Linked DNA regions of Homo sapiens: region 2 is linked to region 1. Evidence: promoter capture Hi-C in 16 types of primary human blood cells and fetal thymus (Javierre and others, 2016). All regions are on one chromosome and are shown on one strand. The core of a region is centred on a gene start or on the middle of the fragment in contact, and the rest is flanking DNA. Distances in the headings are between cores, read along the strand shown. Region 1 holds the start of CDH11 (cadherin 11). Region 2 has its middle 93 kb from the start of CDH5.

The links. The method cuts DNA at HindIII sites, captures the fragments that hold promoters and counts their contacts. A CHiCAGO score of 5 or more calls a contact.
Region 2: a contact is called between a fragment that was not itself captured here and the fragment with the promoter of CDH11 in region 1, in 3 of 17 cell types (endothelial precursors, M2 macrophages and M0 macrophages). The highest score is 8.7, in endothelial precursors.

Annotation. Positions count from the first base shown.
Region 1 is chr16:65,118,049-65,125,218 of GRCh38, reverse strand. CDH11 (cadherin 11) reads left to right here and starts at 3,156. Exons shown (of 13, transcript NM_001797.4): 1 at 3,156-3,339. The HindIII fragment of the contact is 3,944 bases long and covers 1,734-5,677 here.
Region 2 is chr16:66,269,686-66,276,855 of GRCh38, reverse strand. No RefSeq gene overlaps it. Among named protein-coding and RNA genes, the nearest start is that of CDH5, 93 kb to the left of the region's middle. The HindIII fragment of the contact is 1,029 bases long and covers 3,024-4,052 here.

The DNA.
Region 1 (7,170 bases), core at 1,907-4,406:
TAGTAAATTTATAGATTTGTGCAATCATCACAACTATCTAGTTTTAGAGCATTTTGATTGCCCAACAGAATTCCCTCAAGTTCTATTTGCAGTCAATTCCTGTTCAAATCCTCAGCCCTGGGCAACCACGGCTTTATGTTTCTATAAGTTTGCCTTTCCAGTTCATATAAATGGCCATTTCATATAAATGAAAATCATACAATATGTTGTTTTTCATTTGGCTTTCAGCATATGTTTTTGAAGTTCATTCGTGATGTAGCAAACATCAGTATTTCTTCCCCTTTTATTGCTGAACAATATTCCATGGTATGGATACACCCTGTTTTCTTTATCTACTCACCAGCTGATGGGTATTTATGTTGTTTCTTTTGTTTATCTGCTCACCAGTTGATGGGTATTTGTGTTGTTTCCAGATTTTGGCTATTATAAATAAGGCTGCTATGAACATTCTGGTGTGTGTTTTTGTGTGAACATGTTTCCTGTTCTCTTGAGTAGAATCCTAACTTGCTGGGTTGTGCAAAGGGTTATTGACTGCTGCTATACACTAGGTTCCATCTGATTCAGGTGTGTAGTGTCAGTGGAAACTTATCAAGCAGTTTTTAACTTACTTTTTAAAATCGGCTGATGCACCCATTACTAAAGGGATGGTCTATAAAAACAACTGTTGTGATTCGATAAATGCTGAACAGAGAGGAGAGGTCAAAGTCCAGCTAATGTCAGCTGACATGTGGCCAGGTTCATCTTTGGACACGCTTCCAAAAGGGAGTTTATGAAACTTGCTTCATGGATCAAGAGATGTCCTAATCATTACAGATCCCGGGCATCTTTGTATAATATATGTATGATCAGATTGATCGTGACTTCACACTCCCTCTAGGACCACGTGGAAGGGTTGAGAAAATCCAGGCAATAGTTTGTAGCCAAACAAGAGCAAAACTCGAGTACCTCTGAGGGAAAGCCGGACCCCTTGTCCATCCTCTCCTGTGTAAGTAACTTCATTTATAAGCTGAAATGACGCCACCAGATCATCCTATTACCATCACCATGCCTCATTAGAGTGGGGACTTTCGGCGGTGGCTTGGGAAGTACCCAAAGTTTTAGGGGTTACAGCAGAGGCCAAAAAGGCAGACAGAGGAAGCAGGGTAGAGCTCTGAAAAGGTTCAGGGCCAGGGACCCACAGGGGGAGGCAGGAGTGGCAGGCACCACGATCTGCTCTCTGGCGCTCTACAGGAAAGCACCGGGAGTCAATGTCCTCGCGCGTCCCTTGCGCAGAGTGTGGTGCGAGGTTGGGGGGTTACTGGAGACCCAGGGGGCTATCACCTTGGACACCTATGGTGGGGGGAAGGCTGAGGAGTAAGATAACCGGGCAGCTGGAAACTTACAGCTCTTCCCCCGCAGTGGAGGAATGAGGAGTTCAAAGGCCACGTCCACACAGAGGGTGACAGAGGCATCCTCTCCGCGCAGGACGCGGACTGGGGGCAGGCACGCAGCGCCACCCGGATCCTGGAGTCGTCAAGAAAAACGCGGGCGCGCAGGCCGAAGAGGGTAGGTCCCGGGGCAGCCTCGCCGGCACCCGCCCCCGCGGGCGTCTCCCCAAGCCGTGTGGAAACCCGGGCGGCTGCGGGCGCTCGGGACCCGCGGGCTGGTGACCAGGAGCTGGAGGGCAGGGCTCGGCCGCTCTTGCCTTAGCCCCGCACTGGGGTTCCTTCCCCATGCGCTCAGGATCCCAAGCTTTCTCTTCCGTTTTCGGCCTCTTTTTCCGTTAACTCCTGGGCCCGTCTCCTCCCCTCTAGCCCTTTCAAACTGCTTGGCTGTGGCGCCCAGCTTTCCCTCCGCAGCCTCCTTCCCCGTCTTTTTCGCGGGTCCATCTCTTCTCCTTTCCCAGCCTCATCCCCGTCCCCCTAGGCGGTTCCTTTTTAGCCTTCACCCACTGGCGTCTCCACCTTCCTCCGCCTCCTCTCTTGCCTCCACCTCCCACCCTGCAAACTTGTTCAAGCCAGGGGTCCCCACACAGGCATGGTTGTTCCCTGCTGGGTGTGCGGATCCCCACGCCGTTCCCGGTACCGCGAGCGCCCCGCCCAGTCCTTGGCGTGATTCCTAAGCCCCGGCCCTGCCAGCCCTTTCTCCCGGCGACTCGGGGAGGGAGGGCAGGAAGCAGGCCCGGGGAACCCTCACGGTAGCGAGTCGTCAGTGAGGGGAACAGCGGAGGAAGGAGCTAGGACTCCGGCGCTGCGCCCCATTAGGCCCTTTCTCCCGTAGAAACGCACACTCCACCGGGCCCTGGCGGGTCTGTAGCGAGGGAGTGGCAACAAGTGACACTACCGGCGGGGGCCACTGATACCTGGCTGGGGTAGGGGCCAAGGCACCCTCCCAAAAGCTGGAGCGAGGCCGACCCCGGCGAAGCGCTCCCCGCGCACCCCTCTCCGAGGCGTTGCGTGGGGGGCACTAGACGAGAGGAGAGCTGAGAGAGAACGGAGACTGGGCTCTTCCCAAGTCCTAAGTCTCCCTCCCCGCCCGACTTCACCACCAGAGCCACCAGAAGAGTTTGCAAGGGATGGGAGATTGAGAGGGGTGGGGGCTGGGCAGGAGCCGCCAACGTTGAGGGATTTTTGGAAGGTGGGGTGGTGGAGTGAGAAAGAATAGAACGCGCTCCCGAATTCCCAATTGCTTCCCTCACTTGGACGATACCTTCCCCCAACCACCATCCCGGCCCGCCAGGCGAGAGCCCAGCCTGGCCAGCTGGAGCGGATTTGGGGGAAGGAGGAAAATGGGGGCTCCCAACCCCTCTCCAGCTTCCCTCCGCCGCCCTCCCTGATTGGCTGTGCGTCCCTGGAGCCCAACTTCAGTCGCTCCAGACTCCATCTGAGCCCTGAGGGAGTCGGAGCGCCGCGCCACGGGGCGGGAGGGGCGGCCACGAATCCAGGGGTTAGCATCTCTGGGCCCCTGGGGGGAGGGGCGCGGACGGGGTCGGCCCCCGCAGCCTCTGCGAGGCCCATCTCGCTGCCTCTCGCAGCCTCGGCTTCTCTCAGCCCCCGCCCTTTCCTTCCCTCACAGCGGCAGCCTCCCTCCTCCCGCCCCCCCCGCCCCGCACCCGCCTGCCCGCCCGCCACCTCCCCCCGGTTTCTCATTCCTGCCACTAGCGCGCTCGGCGGCTCATTCCGCGGCCGCCGCCAGCTGAGGGGAGCGTCGCGGGCCGAGGAGCAGATGCCGCGGGGGCCGCTCGCAGCCGCCGCTGACTTGTGAATGGGACCGGGACTGGGGCCGGGACTGACACCGCAGCGCTTGCCCTGCGCCAGGGACTGGCGGCTCGGAGGTTGCGTCCACCCTCAAGGGCCCCAGGTGAGGTGCGCCGCCAGTCCCTTCCTCTCGCCTGGTTGGGGCTTCTTGGAATGGGGGGCAGGATTTTCTCAGGAAGAGAATGTCTTGGCGGGGCGGGGTGGTGAGGGGGACGGTGGTATCTGAGTCGAGAAGGCTTCACTAACGCAAAGCAAAAGGGAGGGAGAGATTTGTTTAAAAATCAGAAAGGGAGAAGGGAGCCAGCTGTGGGCGCGGGCAAAGCAGGGGACGGAGGCTTCAGATGTGCGCTCCACGACTCTCCCTGGCTCCGGCCTCCTGTGGGGTCTGCGCCGAGGCCACAGCAGAGGGGGTTTGTACCTGGCTGGGGCAAGAGACTGCAGAGCAGACCTCCGGACACGCCGACTGTCCCCGGTCATATCTCTGGGGAAAGTCGCCCACGGCGCGGTGCCCGCCAGCCCTGCGCCGCTTCCCCAAAGCGGCGACATGACCGCGCTCTGCGGGGTTCTTACTCCATCCTCCCGGATCCCTGCCGAAAGCTCCCCGGGGCTTAGTCCCTGCAGTCGAGACTGCCGGGTAAGCCCGGGAAAACGGAAAGACCCCAGCTCCGGAAGGAGATTGCCCGCACTTTAATAGCGTGGGTTTGGGGCCGCCGACTGTGGTTCTGGGGCAGCAGGCTGCGGTGCGCTACAGCCCTCCAGCCCGAGTCTCTGCGGGAGCTCTGGCGCCCGTTTGTAAGCTCCCACCAGCGCAGGAGTAGGTCCATGAGCGGCCCAGACTCGGGCTCGCCTCTGGCTTGGGATTGGCGAAAGCTGCCAGGGTCAACGTTAACTTTGAGAACCACACCTTCCCGAAACCTGCGCCGCTTCTCGGAGCGCGCCAAGCCTCTCTAGCTCCCGGCACGCACGGCCTCCCTCCCTGCGCTCTGCCCCGGAACGCGAGCCGGGAGGTGGGAAGCACTGAGAAGCTGGCCAGATGGGGAGGACGGCGAGGAGAGCTCCCTTCTCCCCCCTCCCCAACCCAGAGGAACTGTAGGAGGGCCCGCCTCACGCTGTGAAGCGGAGTCCCCAGAGAAAGTGGGGTCGGGGGAGGCTTGCGGGTCCGGCTTCCTTGTCCGTTTTTTTGCCGAGGCCCTGCTTTCGCCCGGGGCTCGCCGCGCCTGCCTCTCCCGGGTGAAAGGTTTTCTAGGTGCTAGAAGAAGCCCTGTTGCTTTTGCTGATAATGCAGTAGGAATTTCATGGGCCATCACACTGCTATTAAGAAATCGCATCTTTTAATTATTTAATACCATCCCTGCCTGACGACGGGTTATCCCTAAGGGATGGGAGTGGGGGGTTGTTCTTGAAACCCGGCTGTATGAGGGTATAGATTTCACTAAAGTCTTCCCCCTTCGTCTCCCCCTAAAGAAATCGTGCTACGATCGCTCTGAAATCTTTTCTTATTTTCTTCTTCTAATCATGGCTATCGGTTTAATATGAGGCAGTAAGTTTTCGTTTTAATCACAGGGAGGCTACCATAATTAATCTGGCTAGAGGACGGATCAATTTCCTCATCACTTGGGCTTGCAGCAGACGTCGATGGTTTTGCGGGGTGTCTGGATTTCCTGGGGATGGGGATGCAGATGTGTTCTCAGGAGCGAGGATCCTGTAGCATCGCATGAGCACATTTGCCAGGCTGGGCTCTGAGCGCTAGAGCCTAATATGTTGGCAGAGAAGAGAAGGGACTGACCTTCTTTTCGTTAATCCTGGAATTGTTTTTCCTACAAATACGTAGGTGCAGACACCAGAACAGAAATATTAACTGCCCAACCCTAGCTGCAGGGAGCCTGGTCTTCTTCCAATAGGACAAAGGAAAAAAAGTTACAAAACAAAGGGACAGAGTTGTGGCCAATACGAGAAGCACTCTGAGGCTCCAGCTACTGAAGTTCCTTAAATGTAATCTCTGATTCCAAGTTTTAGAGTTGGCCAGTGGGCTCTGGAATTCGAACCTCTGTGAAAAACTGAAATCCAGCCTAGTACAAAAGGAATGTGAGTGCTTTTCAGTAGAGACCAGGGAAAGGCATCTGAAAGGCCAGGAAACTTTGCTTGAGTAAGGATTATCTTTACATCTTACTTTTGAAACATTGTAAATTAAGACATTAAAATGTCTTGCAGGCATGCACTATTATTAATAAAAATTATTACTATCATTTTAGTTGTTACTTCAGAGTCTGCATAAACTGGGCATTTTATGACATTGTTTGAAAGAATAAACCACCCTCCTCACCCCTGGGAAAGGGGGAATGAAGGCAGGCCTTGGAAGGATTGAGACTGGATAATCTGGCGAGCCCCAGACATGTAGATTTATTCAAATGGCTGCTTATTGCTGCCTAGGAAAATAAGCTTTTAAAATAGTTCTAACTGAAGCAGTGGACCATCTTGATAGCACTTCAGAACTTTCATTACGTTCAGCATTCTTATCAGAACACCAGACAGTAAAATTACTAGAAACCTAAATTCTATTTTCAATTAAGATGCAATCTTTTGTTAATTTGAAAATTTAAAAAAAATAGTTATGGCGCAATTTTTTTTATGTCTTAGAACTCATGTTCCCTCTGTAGAGTGGTGGCTGTGGATGTGCATGTTTGATTGTTTATTTGTGGGAGGAGGGGGCAGGGGACAGACTTGGAGAGCCACGCCATGATTTGGGGGAATACGGATCAATTTCATGCTCTTTTAATGCACTTGTCTTCATAATTCATGGTTTTTCTTCTCCTTTGAATAGAATTACATGGCTGCTTTGTAAAGATTCTGGTTTGGGGACCCTCATATGGGAAACGCCATGACATTGACCTCGTGGTCTGATTTACAATGCCAGTACTGCGCTCCCAGGAGCATAGCATGTCCTGGAACCTTGCCTGTGAATGCCTGTGACTTATGAAGTGGTAACTTATGAAGTTGGTAAACTTTGATCTCTTATATTCAAATCTGTTTTCAGAACCATCTAAACAAGATCTTCAAATCTGATTTTAGTCTTCCTTCATTCTCAATACATGTATGTAGGTAGATGTTGGAGAAACATAACAATTTCATTGGAATTTACTTTCAATATTGATGTTTTCACTTTGATGACAGGCATACTTACTCATTCAATAATAATAAAACAGTGGAATATATAGAGTTTGAAAGTAGGTATCAAACTTTTTTTCTTGAATTGTCAAATTTGAAGAATGACTATGAACTTTCAAGTTTTTTTTTCCTAGAAAATTTGAGCACTGTATAAATTCACTAGCCAATGATTTAAGGGATTGAAATGTGTTTGGGATGATTTTCTCCCTTATGGAATTGGCTGCTGTTTCATAAAAAGTTACCTAATTTGTCAAGAATCCCTATTCTGCACTTACCAAGAATTGTGAGTTTTCAGCCTTTTTAATTTAAAGTTATTGCCTCTGAAATATATAAAAGTAGTTGGTCTATATAAATTTGTGATTTAATTGATTAGGGGGAAAAACATCAACAGGTCTGCTAAAGAAAAAGAAAAATAAAGTTGGAGAAAATTGGACACATCCTGGTGCACTGGTAGGAGTTAAAAATGAGCTGTTCCATCAGGATTCCTGTGATAGCCATCCGCAGCCTCCCCTATGAGCAGGAAGGACTAAAGAAAACACTCGAGGAGCATAATTAGACATCTTTCTGCTATAATTTTACCCTGACATTGAGAGCCTTGTACAACTCTGGAAATGGACTCCTTCGCGGAAGATTGCACTTCTGGCCACTAGAGGGCAATGGCACCCTTCTCCAACTGTCTGCATGGAGCCCATCTGCTTTTGAGGGCATCATGAAAAGCGGTTTTGTTACTTACAAGCCTTGTCTGGCCCTCTCAGGAGAGACCGAATTC
Region 2 (7,170 bases), core at 2,289-4,788, 1.2 Mb before region 1:
CAGTTTGATTATAATGTGTCACAGTTTGGGCCTCTTTGATTTTATACCAGTTGGAATTCATTGAACTTGGACTTCTATTTTCATTTGTTTCCTCTGATTTGGGAAGTTTTTGGCCATTTCCTCAAATAAGGTCTCTGCCCCTTTCTCTCCTACTTCTAGGATTTCCATAGTGTATAAAAGGGTCTGCTTGATGACGTCCCATAAGTCCCTTAGGGCCTTTTCAGTTTTCTTAATTATTTTTTCTTTGTGCTCCTCTGACTTGATTCAAATGAACGATCTGCAAATTTGCGAGTTCTTTCTTCTGCCTAAGTCTGCTTTGAACAGCTGTAGTGAATTTTTCAACTTAGTTATTGTATTTTTTAGCTCTAGAATTTCTGTTTCTTTAGTTTATTTCTGTTGACATTCTCACTGGACTCATCCAGCATTTTCCTGATTTCACTTAGTTGTCTATCTGTGTTCTCTTTTAGCTCACTGAGCATCTTCAACACAGTTGTTTTGAATTCTTTGTGAGAAAGTTCAGCAATTTGCATTTCTTTAGGCTTGGTTACTGGAGTTTTATTTTGTTCATTTGATTGGGCCATGTTTACCTGTTTATTTGTATGCCTTGTGATCTTTTGTTGAGATTTTGGCATTTGAAAAAACAACCACCTCTCCCAGTCTTTATGAATTGGCCTCACGCACGGGGAGACTTTTACCAATCAGCCTGGCAAAAGGTTCTGGGACCTCTCAAATCTTTTCTGGGGATGTGTCTTCTCTGGCCTTGTGCATGCCTGTTTAACCGTCTCGAATTCCCTAGTCTATTTCTTCTCAAGAGACATAATCTCTTGCTCCTCCTGCTGTCTTCCTGTGGAACTGCATAATCTCTGCAGCTGTAACGTTCCTTGGAGCTTGCCTGTTTCCAGTGGCTTCTGTGCTGCCATTCCTGTCTGTGCTCTGAGTCAGGCAAGACAGAAGTCAGTCTCTCAGGCAGCCCCCAGACAAGCCAGAACATTGGCTGCACAAGTCAATGTTTGGTTTTCAACCCGAGGGAGTAGTTCTGGTATGGGAGGTTTTCTCATGGTTGTGCCACATTATACTGGGCCCAGGAATCTCTTATCAAATCCCTTACCACTTTGTGACATCATAAAATAGTGGCAGTATTTTTCTTTAGTCAAAAGTCAACCAAATATATGCTGCTTCAGCAGCTGGATTGTAACCTCTAAAGAAGGAGGTTCCAATGATATCAAGGGAGGAAGAAGGAAATAGCAATTCTTTTCCAACTCCAGCTCCGTCTGTTTCAGTCTCTGCACCAGGCACTTTACTCACGTGGTCTTTTTTACATCTTGTAAAGCAGGTGGTGTTATCCCCATTATGCAGATGAGGAGCCTGAGGGCTGGGGAGGGTATGTGACTTTCTATGTTCTGAGCTGTAGAAGCTGGATTTGAACCCAGGTCTGCCTAACAGCAAAGTTGGTAAAATACCTGAGACTGGGTAGTTTATAAAGAAAAGAGTTTTAATTGGCTTATGGTTCTGCAGACTCTACAGGAAGCATAGTGGCTTCTGCTTTTGAGGAGGCCTCAGGAAGCTTCCAATCATGGCAGAAGGCAAAGGGGGAGCAGGTGTCCTACATAGCAGGGGCAGGAGCAAGAGAGAGAGACAGTGAAAGGGGAGGTGCCACACACTTAAATAACCAGATCTCATGAGAACTCACTTACTATCATGAGAACCGCACCAAGAGGGTGGTGCTGCACCATTCATGAGAAACCCACTACCATGATGCAGTCACCTCCCACCAGACCCCGCCTCCAACACAGGGGATTACAATTTGACATGAACTTTGGCCAGGGACACAGATCCAAACCATATCAGTCTTTTTTCCATGACACTGAGCAAAAGGACCCAATCTTGGTCATATGTGTCCCTCACCCACCCCCAATGTGCCCAACAGAGTTCAGCAAGTGTTTATTGCACGAATGAGGCTAGAGATGCAACCAAGGAGACGCAGAGGAAACCAGCCTTGCCCCGCCACCTGCCCCCGCTTCCTTGCCTGTATGTCTGTTGACTTTTGCTTTCCCTTGGTTTATGCTCTAGGGGCCTGCGGGGTTTCTGAGCCTGGGCAAAACTCACTGAGGAAGGGAAAAAAATCTGCTCACCAGGTCACACAGCACATTTAAACAGATTAGGCAAAACCTCTCCCTTTCTCAAGACACTTCCATATATGGAAAATTATTGTAATGTACTGATTTTCTTAGCATGAGTCTCTTTACTGCCATCTTCTGGAAGTTTATGACAGTATACACATTTATGATTATGATGGATAGCAGGCAGTCCTTTGCACCCTAGGTGTGACACTCTTGTGCCACTTCTCTGTGGTGGCCATTCAGGGAGATGAATCTGGAACCTTCTGAAGCCTAGGAGAAGAGGTTTATGGATTCTATTTTTCTGTTTGGATTTGTTACCCTGGTCCTGCCCATTGTAAATCTCTGGGCTTCTTCGTGTTCACTACGCCCGCCCATACCTGATCTTGCCCTGGGGCCTGTAAGGAGTCTTGTTTAAATGCAAGCCATTGCAGGAGTGAAGGCTTAACATCCCATGAACTCCTTTAGTTTTCTGCCTCAGTTTCCTTGCTGGGCTGACAGCTCCGCCACCTGACCTAGCTTTGACCAGCCCTGGGACCTTGGCCACTGGAGGGTGCTATTAGCTGGGTTATTGCTGGGATAAACTTGACCACTGGACCTCACTGGCTGGGAACCTTTGAATGTCTTCTATTGGACTGTTAGTCATTCTCCTTTGGGGCTTACAAGGTTCACTCACTCAGTCACTCACTAATTCAATTCATGAGTTCAGCAGGTAATGACTAAGTCCCCACACCATGCCAGTACTGTGCTAGGCACTGGGGGATCAATGGTGAGAAAAACAAGCAAACAAGCACATGGGATGCAGCAGACACCTCTGGCACCCTGCTCATCACATTCCTTGGCCAGCTGTGATTTCAGTGCCAGCGACAGTGGCCGGTGGCCGTTTCCCTGACAGCTCAGAAAGCTTGCCTTGCTCTTACAGCATCCACTTCATGTATGGGACAGATGCCTGTTGGTTTTCTGCCTCAGGGTCTTCTCCAGCGTTGTGGGAACACTCTTAGCCCATGCAAGCCTGGCGGTGTGAAGGCACGAGTTAAAATGTACCCAGGATTTGTTTTAATCAGTATGGTCAGACACGCAGGCAGGGAGATGATTGTCATAAAGGAAGAAGTTTATACTAAGTACTCTAGAAATGGGAGGCACTGCACACTGCTACCTGGAACACATGGGAAGCGCCAGGGTCAGAAGGCAGAAGAGGGAGAGGGGAGAGCAAGGCTCAGAGCCTTTGTTGAGGATTTCTTGGGAAGGTGTGGGCAAGGCAGGGTAGGTAGACTGAGTTAGCTTAGGATGGATAGTGTGAATCACTGTGGAGGGCTCTGGGCTTTCAAGGTCATTCCTAGTTGTCTGGTTCTTGGCCCTGTAGTGATTTAGGGCAGAGAGAATATTGACTTGGCAGTTGGACGGTTGGGGGTGTGGGCTCTGGAACGATTGCTTTGTACATCAAAGGTGCAGTCACAGGGGAGTCCTTTGCTGTCTCTAGGAATTAGCTAGCTCTGGGAGGGGCAGTCTCTCCAGGATCAAGGCCCCAAATGCCGGAGCATCAGGAATACAGAAAATAAGAAAATGCAGTCAATACAGGGCATGAATCTTGTCCGGGGAAGCTCTCAGCCAATGAGGGCTGGGAGCTGGTGGATGAATGCTCCAGGCTCTTGGCCTTTAGGGGACTGATTCTGGGGACTTCATGCTGCTTGTCAGGAGGTCCCAGCTGCACTGAGCCTCTGTTGCCCAAAGCATTGATGACCGCAACACAACTTTTAATGATCTTACTCCTCCCTATGCCATTTTCCCTCAATCCTTCACTCTTGCTGTCTGGGAACCTCTCCCAAATAAACAACCTGCACTCCAGTCTTATCTCAGGCTGTGCCTTCTGGGAACCCCACATAAGCCACCTGACCCCTGCTGCCTTAGAGCTTTACACTAGGCTCGGGAAAAGCTTCCTGGAGAAGAAACCATTTTTCTTGCTGCTGAAGAAAGACTCATTGTGTCATGGGTGAAAGGGGTAGGGGGAGAGCAGTCGAGGCAGAGCGAGCCACACATGCAAAGGGCCTGAGGCTGGTGGGAGGAGCATGGCCTGTTCCAGGAAGGTGTCAGGGGCTCCCCAGACCCCCGTCCCCACAGATCCAAGTTCCCAGCATGCCTTGCACCAAGGTCCAGCCATTTACAAAGAAAGAGCGAGTCCATCTGAGTGTTGACACATTCAGCGGCTCAGGTAATGTGTTTATTTTTATTTTTATTTTTGAGACAGAGTCTTGCTTTATCACCCAGGCTGGAATGCAGTAGCACCATGTTGGCTCACTGCAACCTCCGCCTCCCGGGTTGAAGCAATTCTCATGCCTAAGCCTCCCAGAAAGCTGGGACTACAGGCATGCACCACCACGTCCGGCTAATTTTTGTATTTTTAGTAGAGATGAGGTTTTGCCGTGTTGGCCAGGCTGGTCTCGAACTCCTGGCCTCAAGCAACCTGCCTGTCATGGATTGGACATGTGAGTCACCAAGCCTGGCCTCAGGTAATGTGTTTTAATAAGCAGCTGTTTGGTGTCCTTCTCCAGGGTAGTGGTAATGGCAGGGAACAATGAGACTGATGGGGTGTGTGTGAATGGCACCCTTCTTGCCTTTCTCCATCCCAAGGTTTTATCAAGATTCATCCCTCTCTTGGTCCTGGGGTTGCAGGGCCTGACCGGCACAGAGGAATCTCTGTGTAGTTTCCAACACCACTCATTCACAAAGGGGAAACTGAATCCCGTGTTAATCTTTCCACTTCAAAGATGATTCCAGGTGAATGTGGGAGCCCAGTCTCAGAGACGCCCCTCTCCTTCTGGCTCTGGTTCCCCTCCCTCCCCTGTAGCCTGCCCACTGAACTGGGCCTCTGGGCTCAGCTCTGCAGTCTGCAGGCCACCGGGAGGAGGTGCGCAGAGATCTGGACGGGTTTACAACAGCTTGACTGGAAAACTTGGGGATTTCAGATCTCAGCTAAGAGGAAGTCTCTGGAATGCACAGACCCTAGCCCCCTTGTCTTTGGGGCCAGGCACAAAAATCAGGAGTTCAGTGAAGTTTCTGTCCTTGCATTTCTTCCAAGGGTGGGGCTCGAGAGAAGGGAGGGCCAGAGCTGAATCTGAAGCCACAGTGAGTCACTGTGCCACGGGCATCTTCTGAGGCTTGGAGAAGTCACCTAGACAGGCATAAGCTCCATGATGCATTCTTCTCCAAAACCTGCTTACCTCTACCCTGGTGGACCCATCCCCAGGCCAGCAGAGATAGAGAGGCCTGGGTGCATGGGATGGGGTGGGGCGGGCAGAACTCCTCTCCCTCCATTCAGCTGCCCAAACCTTGGCCTGGGCAGCTCCCTGTGTGTGAGCCCAGTCTGGGGCTCCCCGCCTCACTGCCTCATCCTGATGCCAGGCTCTGGAAAGGAGCTGGGAGACTTCTAATAAGGCTTCCTAGACCCCTCACACAAAATGGAGGCAGACGCGCTCCAGCACTGCCTTGTCTTAGAAGTAAATTTTCTCTTTCTGCCCCCTCTCATTCCTTTTCTCCCCTTTTCTCTTTTGCAATCAAGGCTGCCTGGGTTAAAATCCTAGCTTCCCCTCTACCTGTGTGGTTTTGGGTGAGTTCCTTAATCTCTCTCTGTGTCTCAGTTACCTCGCCCAGGAGGGGATAATAATCGGTCTGAGGTGAGGACTAACGCCTGAGAAGTGCTTAGATCCAGGGAAGCCAGGATGGGAAGGTGTGAGCTGTTACTAGGGTGGGCAGTGCAGACGGCAGGGGCTGTCCTTTTGGAATCCTAAATTTCACACAGAAAAAGGACATGGCTTCCGCTGCCTGAGTTTGAACTAAAGTCCGATGAGGAGAGGGGTCACACTGGAATTGCTAATTACACATTTAGGGGAAGATAAGTGTCTATCCTCTTTAGGCGGTGGGGTGACAGCAGCGGGCACCCTGCTGTCCGCTTTTAAATACATACAGATGGGATACCTCGTTTGCCCAGGCCAGACGCCAGGTGGCAGCCATTTCGGAGCGCTAGGGACGGGGCGGGCTGTCTGGGAACCCGGGGGCCACGCAGCGGGCAGGCAACCTTCTGCTCCAGGAAGGCGTGGAGACGCGGCCGCTGCGTGCAGGACTCCCGTAGCCGCCAGGGGGCGCTGTGGCCACGCGGCCGCCGCCGGCCTCCCAGCGAACCCGGACCCTGCGCTGCGCTCCCGGTTCGGCGCTGCCACCCCCAGCCCAGCCCTGGCGGCCCGCTCACAGGCCCCGCGGGGAGCACCCGGTCTCCTGCCGAGCGTGGGGACCCAGCTGAGATCCGCTGCCCCTCTGGCCTCAGTTTGCGCTTCTGCAAAGTGGCACCGCCTGCCGCCCGCGTGGCAGCTCCTCAGCTCGAGGCCTTCAGGTTTCTCTTCTCAGTCACTGGGCCCTGAACTCGGTGCCGCACTCAGCCAGATCCCGGCTGAGATCCCTCTGATCTCAGCACCAGAGAAGGCTGCTTTCCTCCCTCCCTCCTTCATTTTCTCCCCTTCCTCTCCCTCCATTTTTCCTTTCTTCCACCCTCTCCTTTCTCTCTTCGTTTCCCTCTCCTCTGCTTCTCCCTCCCTCCCTCCCGTCCTCCCTTCCTTCTTTTCTTCCTTTCTCCCTCCCTCCCTCCTTCCTGGGGCCTTACCTCCCCCCTCCCTCTCTCTCTCCCTCCCCTCCCTCCTCGTCTCTCTTCTTCCCTCCCTCCCTCCTTCCTGCTTTCCGTTCTTCCTGGGGCTCTCCCTCCCCCTGCTTCCCTGTCTCCCTCCCTTCCTCTTCTCTCCCTCCCTCCCTGTCTCCCCTCCCTCCCTCTCTCTAACTGCTGGTTCAGCAGAGGACTCTTGGTTTGATTCCGGGTCTCCCCTCCGCAGAGGGGACCTGCTTTCCTGTGCAGTGCAGGGTCTATCCTGCTGCCCCCAGCCCCCTCCCTCCCTCCCTCCCTCCCTCCAGGCATCTTTGACTTGATTGTTGGAACCCTGAACTCACCTTGGGCCGCAGGCCGCAAGTTGGACAAACTTGTTCTAGTGTGCTGTCAACAATGAGAGGGTCA